Linked DNA regions of Homo sapiens: region 2 is linked to region 1. Evidence: promoter capture Hi-C in human tissues and cell types (Jung and others, 2019). All regions are on one chromosome and are shown on one strand. Each heading gives the region's core, a stretch centred on a gene start or on the middle of the fragment in contact. The rest is flanking DNA. Distances are from core to core; before and after follow the strand shown.

What was found. Contacts are between HindIII fragments. The study calls those that stand out against the background at their distance.
Region 2: a fragment that was not itself captured here is called in contact with the fragment with the promoter of ODF4 in region 1 in 1 of the 25 tissues and cell types used here (lymphoblastoid cells).

The regions. Positions count from the first base shown.
Region 1 is chr17:8,338,356-8,341,511 of GRCh38, forward strand. It overlaps ODF4 (outer dense fiber of sperm tails 4), which reads left to right and starts at 1,485. Exons shown (of 3, transcript NM_153007.5): 1 at 1,485-2,150. The coding sequence starts at 1,697. It overlaps LOC124903916 (a long non-coding RNA gene), which reads left to right. Exons shown (of 2, transcript XR_007065607.1): 2 at 68-403. The HindIII fragment of the contact is 12,554 bases long and covers 1-3,156 here.
Region 2 is chr17:8,104,023-8,106,989 of GRCh38, forward strand. ALOXE3 (arachidonate epidermal lipoxygenase 3) reads right to left here. Exons shown (of 16, transcript NM_021628.3): 14 at 93-193. Among named protein-coding and RNA genes, the nearest start is that of ALOXE3, 13 kb to the right of the region's middle. The HindIII fragment of the contact is 5,977 bases long and covers 1-2,967 here.

The sequences.
Region 1 (3,156 bases), core at 235-2,734:
GAGTTTACAGGATGGCAGCTAAGAAACAGCTTGCTGAAATGCTGAAAAATCCCTTTGCTTATAACAGGACTGGCTGAAATCAGTGGGAACCCGTATGGCTGACAGCAATCCGCACAGAACGAGCTTGCTGATGTCACAGCCTGAATTTCCACCTGCTGTTTCATACTAACGCCACCAAATTTGCACATGCAACCCACGAAGAACCTTGGAGATAACCAGACATGATTAAGGACTTTCTAGACTTCTCCTTTCTTTCCACCAATCACCCGCTAATCCCAGAATCCTCCCCCTAAACCTTTTCTAATAAAAGTACTGCCTTAAGACCAGCAAAGAGAGACAGATTTGAGCTGGATTCCCGTATCCTCGTGGGTCAGCTCACAATAAAGCTTTCCTTTTCTCAAAACCTAGTGCCCTAGTATTGGAGTATTGGCTTCTATGCACATCTGGCAGCGAGCACTTTTGCTTGGTAACAGCGCCAGGTTCTTTTTAACAACCAGCTATTGCGGGGAGCTAATGGAGTGAGGTCTCAGGGAAGGCGTTAATCCAATCACAAGGCATCTGCCCCCATGACCCAAACACCACCCACTAGGCCCTCTCACCTCCCATCACCACCACACTGGGGAGCAAATTTCAGCATGAGGTTTGGTGAAGACAAATTAACCATATGCAGACCACAGGAGGGCCTCTCACATACCATTGCTCATATGTAAAGGGAGGCAGAAGCTGGAGGGAGGTGTCAGATCCACAGTTCTGAGCTGTGGCCTGAGAAACAGGATTTCCGGAAAGAGTTAGAGCTGGAGCCACAGGCCAGGCAAGGTGGCTCACACCTGTAATCCCAGTGCTTTGGGAGGCCAAGTGGGGAGGATCTCATGAGGCCAGGAGTTTTTTTTTTTTTTTTTTGAGGCTGAGTTTCACTCTTGTTGCCCAGGCTGGAGTGCAATGGTGCGATCTCGGCTCACCGCAACCTCCGCCTCCCAGGTTCAAGCAATTCTCCTGCCTCAGCCTCCTGAGTAGCTGGGACTACAGGCATGTGCTACCACGCCCAGCTAATTTTGTATTTTTAGTAGAGATGGGGTTTCTCCATGTTGGTCAAGATGGTCTCGAACTCCCGACCTCAGGTGATCCACCCACCTCGGCCTCCCAAAGTGCAGTGATTACAGGCGTGAGCCACCGTGCCTGGCAGAGGCCAGGAGTTTGAGACCAGGCTGGGTAACATATCAAGACCCCATCTCTACAAACAATTGAAAAATTAGCCAGGCATGCTGGCACAATCCTGTAATCCCAGCTACTCAGGAGGCTGAGGTGGGAGGATCACTTGAACCCAGGAGTTCAAGGTTGCAGTGAGCCAAGGTTGTGCCACTGCATCCCAGCCTGGGCAATAGAGGGAGACCCTGTCTCTCTCTCTAAAAAAAAAAAAAAAAAAAAAAAAAATTGCTGAAGACTTGGCTTCCCTCCCCCATCTCACTGTGCCCCAGGAAAATTCCGTGGCAGTTAGGGGACCTGGCCTGCTGAATGGGTTGGGGCCTTCTCTTGGATCAAGAGTCTCTTATTTGATCGAGGTCTGTTATTAGACTTCCTCATTCTTTCTCAGACCTCAGGCTGCATGGTGGCAGCTGATGAAAATATCCAAAAGATGAGAAGAGACAATTGAGTCTGGTGAGGGAAAGGGGAGACAGAGGGTGAAGTGGTGCTCAAGATGGATGCAGAGTACTCTGGGAATGAGTTCCCCAGGTCAGAAGGAGAAAGAGACCAACATCAGAGACCTGGAAAGGAAAGGAAGAGTGGGGAGGCAGGATGGGGCACAGGTGAGCTGGGACAAGATGGGAGACTGCTGTCCTCCACCCTCTCCCTCAGTAGTAACAGGTCCTTGGGCCAGCGCCAGAACTCTCCGCTGCCCTTTCAATGGAGAATCACACACAGCTTCCGCTGGATGGCCCAGGTGTTGGCCTCTGAGCTCAGCCTGGTTGCCTTTATCCTACTATTGGTCGTGGCCTTCTCCAAGAAATGGCTGGACCTCTCTAGGAGCCTCTTCTACCAGCGCTGGCCCGTGGATGTCAGCAACAGAATCCACACATCAGCCCACGTTATGTCCATGGGGCTCCTGCACTTTTACAAATCCAGGAGCTGTTCTGACTTAGAGAATGGGAAAGGTGAGCCCCTCCACCCCCCATCCCAGCCCAGGCCGCCAGCCTGTCTTGGCCTCTGTATCTGCACCCTGGATGTATTCTTGTTCCCTCTTTCTGGTCATCTTTACTTTTTGGCCTGCAAGATGGTTCCACTGGCACTGAGACCTCCGATGATCGTTTCTCATCCTGTAGCCTGGCTAAATAGATTTGATTGGTGCAATGGAAAATGTCACTGCTTTTGATAAAACCCAGAGCCAAATCTGTGCTTCTAAGAATGCTGTGAGAGAGTTGGGCATGGTGCTGCACACCTGTAGTCTCAGCTATCCAGGAGGCTGAGGTGGGAGGATTGCTTGGGCCCAAGAATTTGAGTCCAGCCTGGGCAATTTAGTGAGACTCCTGTCTCAAAAAAAAAAAAAAAAAAATCAGGCTGGGCACTGCGTCTCACACCTGTAATCCCAGCACTTTGGGAGGCCAAAGCAGGCAGATCACCTAAGGTTGGGAGATCGAGACCATCCTGGCTAACATAGTGAAACCCCGTCTCTACTAAAAATACAAAAAATTAGCCAGGCGTGGTGGCACATGCCCGTAATCCCAGCTACTCTGGAGACTGAGGCAGGAGAATTGCTTGAACCCGGGAGGTGGAGGTTGCGGTGAGCCGAGACCGCACCATTGCACTCCAGCCTGGGCAACAAGAGTAAAACTCTGTCTCAAAAAAAAAAAAAAGTTACGAGGGGCATGGACTCAGCACAAGAGAATCATTCATTAATCGCCTAATTTACCAGGGACAAGAGCCCCAGTGAGATGGGGGTTTCCTTAGTCTTGTGTACCCAGAGCTTTGAGAGGACTCCTTGCAATGTCCCCTCTCAGGCCCTGATCCCACACATTCTCCTTTCCTTCTGCCTCAGGCCTTGCTTTTCTGGATCATTTTCCTTTTTCCACATCTGGCTTCTGTGTTCCTTCTTTCCCTGAATTCTTGCAGCTGCTTCATTCCTCATCCTTGTTTTTTTCTGTTTGTTTCGCTGATTTTTTT
Region 2 (2,967 bases), core at 166-2,665, 230 kb before region 1:
AACGCTGACCCACCCAAGCTCTCAACCCAAATTCAGGCCTCAAGTCCATTGCTGAGACCTGATGTCCCCAGGCCTGCCCTTTGTAGCCTCACCTGCCCACTGTTGACAGCAGCGTGCTGGGCAGAGCAATTGAAGATGATTGCAGTGAGGAACTTCACCATCTCTCCTGGGGTGCACAGCCGGCTTGGGAAACCTGGGTGTGGGGAGGAAGGGTAGAGGGTGTGGATGGAAGGTACTGGATTCCTAGGGCCAGCTCAGGACTGGGGCTCACCACAGGGGGAAAGTGAGGAAGTAGGGAACACCGAGCCATGACTGTCTTGTCGGGCTGGTTAGGGATGGCCACCACCAAGATTTGTGGTCTCTGAAGTGGGTCAGGATAGGAGATGGGGGCTGGGATCTGGCCAGAAAATCCCCGGCAGGCAGGGCCAATGACAGAGGCAGCTTCAAGCCCAAGTGCCCAGCTGCCTCTCCCTGACTTCCAAGGCACTTCAATCTGCAGCCCCTATTAGGATGTAATGATTTAATCCTACCCGGTTCACCAAGATTTGTTCAAGCACCCAGTATCCAACCATCCTCTGCTGGGCTTAGCAGCAGAGACCCACGCAGAGGGCGTGTTACTGAAAAGCTCACAGTAACAGAAGCAGAAGGAAGCTTCTAAGACCAGAGCTTGGCTCTTTGAGGAGAGGGCAAGCAGGGCAGAAAGGGGCACCAGGAGCAGAGTGGTTAGTGGAGGCCTCCTGGAGGACAAGAGGGGCCTTGTGAGTTGAAAGATGGATGAGCCTCCAATGGAAAAAAGACAACAGAGAAAAGCATTTCAGGATTGGAGAGGGGAGAGCTCCAAGGCTCAGCCCTTGGTCCATTCATGCTGTGCCTCACTCATCTCATCCAAGTCCATGGCTCTAACCACCTCCCACTTGCCAACAACTCCCAAATTCCCTTCTCTGGCTGTGCCTGGCGTCTGAGCTCCAGACTCAGCCGTGGGCATTACCCTGGAGGCAGCTTACCTGACGTCCCCACCTAAGCATCTACACCACCTCACACTGCACACTGGCAAGGACAAATGCCCGTCAGATTACGTCACCCCTCGCTAAAACCCTCGGAGGGCTTCCCATCTCACTCACCTTGTCATGGCCCTACTTGATTGGGCCCCAGCCCCTTCTCCCACTTCATTTCCTTCCTGGCTGTTCACTTATTCGACTCCAGCTGTGCAGGCCTTCCTGATAGTTCTCAAATGCACCAGCACATTCAGAATTCAGGGCCTGCACACTTACTATACCTCTGCCTGCTACTCTTGCCCCAATTATCTTCAGAACTAGCACCTCTCCTTCCTTCAGCTACTAATGCATCAGCTCCTGAGAGGCCTGCCCTGGCCACCTCCCTGAAATGATCTCTTTACCTTGACACACTGTATCCCCTGATGCTGTTTCAGTTTTCCTCTTAGCATTCATAACCACCTGACATGTGTTTGTTGATTCTCTCTTTCTCTCTCCAAAAGAATGTTAAGCTCAACTAAGGCCAGAATTTTTGTCTTTTTCACTACTAAACCTCAGCACCTAGAACAATACTTAATAAATACCAAGAGCCCGGTAATTATTGGTTGAATGAAGGAATGCATGAGAGGGTAAGAAGCCAGAGCATGGGAGGCAGAGGTGGGAGGATTGCTCAAGCCCAGGAGTTTGAGACCAGCCTGGGCAACATAGCAAGACCTTGTCTCTAAAAAACATTTTTTAAAAAGGTAACTGGATGCAGTGATGTGGTGGTGCATGCCTGTAGTCCCAGCTACCAGGGAGGCTGAGGCATGAGGATCACTTGAGCCTGGGAGGTCAAGGCTGCAGTGAGCTGTGATCACACCACTGCACTCCAGTCTGAGCATCAAAGTGAGACCCCGCCTCAAAAAAAAAAAAAAAAAAAAAAAGCCAGAGTAGGAAGGCACGGGGTATTAACAGGGTGAGGGAACAGGGAGGGGACCTAATTGGAGGTGAGGCTGCAGAGGCATGCAGGGCCATGTGGTTTCTGGGCAGTATTTCAGAGGATTAGCAGGGTGGTGGCCCTGCAGGCTTGGCGGGCAAGCAGCGAGAGGCTGGGAGAGGTGGGACTGGTTGAGAAGCAGCTGCCACAATTCCAGAGCACTATGAGGAAGACTACAACTAGGGTGGTGACAGTAGGGATCAGCCACCTAACTGGATTTAGGAAGACAGAGAGGGAAACATGAGTCAAAGAGAACTAAGGTTTGGAGTCAGGCTGACTGGACGGAGGCTGATGCAACAGAACAGAGAGGTTGGGAGGCAAGACCAGACATCCGCCTGGGAGTGTGTGGGAGTTTTCTGAAGGTTCTGTTCCTGGTTGAGTCTCTAAACTCGGAGGCTGAGAACAAAAAAGTAAAGCAGGCAGACACACCTGTAGTGTCAGCTACTTGGAAGGCTGAGACAGGAGAATCAATAGAGCCCAGGAGTTTGAGACCAGCCTAAGCAACAGAGCAAGACCCTGTCTCAAAAAAACAAAACATGAGCAAAAACAAAAAATAAAAACAAAGAAGTGGACAGACCATCTATAGGAACTTTTCCGTAGTTCATATTGCCTATTTTTCCCCCATTGGAATATGGAACCTGACCGAAATGGTGAAAGAAACCCCATCTCTACTAAAAATACAAAAATTATCCGGGCGTGGTAGTGTGCGACTGTAGTCCCAGCTACTCGGGAGGCTGAGACAGGAGAATCGCTTGAACCGGGAGGTGGAGGTTAACTTGTGTGTTTTCCCTTTTTAAATACTGTATGTGACTCTATAATAGGTTTGTACTCATTGAAAGAGCTGTTGTCAATCTGCAGAATGTTCTGATGCACTAACTCAGAGAAAAAAATGTAATAAAGTAAGATAGGAGAGTTGAATTAACCTCAGACTGACTGAGGTTAATAAGTGTGTTTTCCCTTTTTAAATGCTGTATATGAATCTACAATAGGTTTATACTT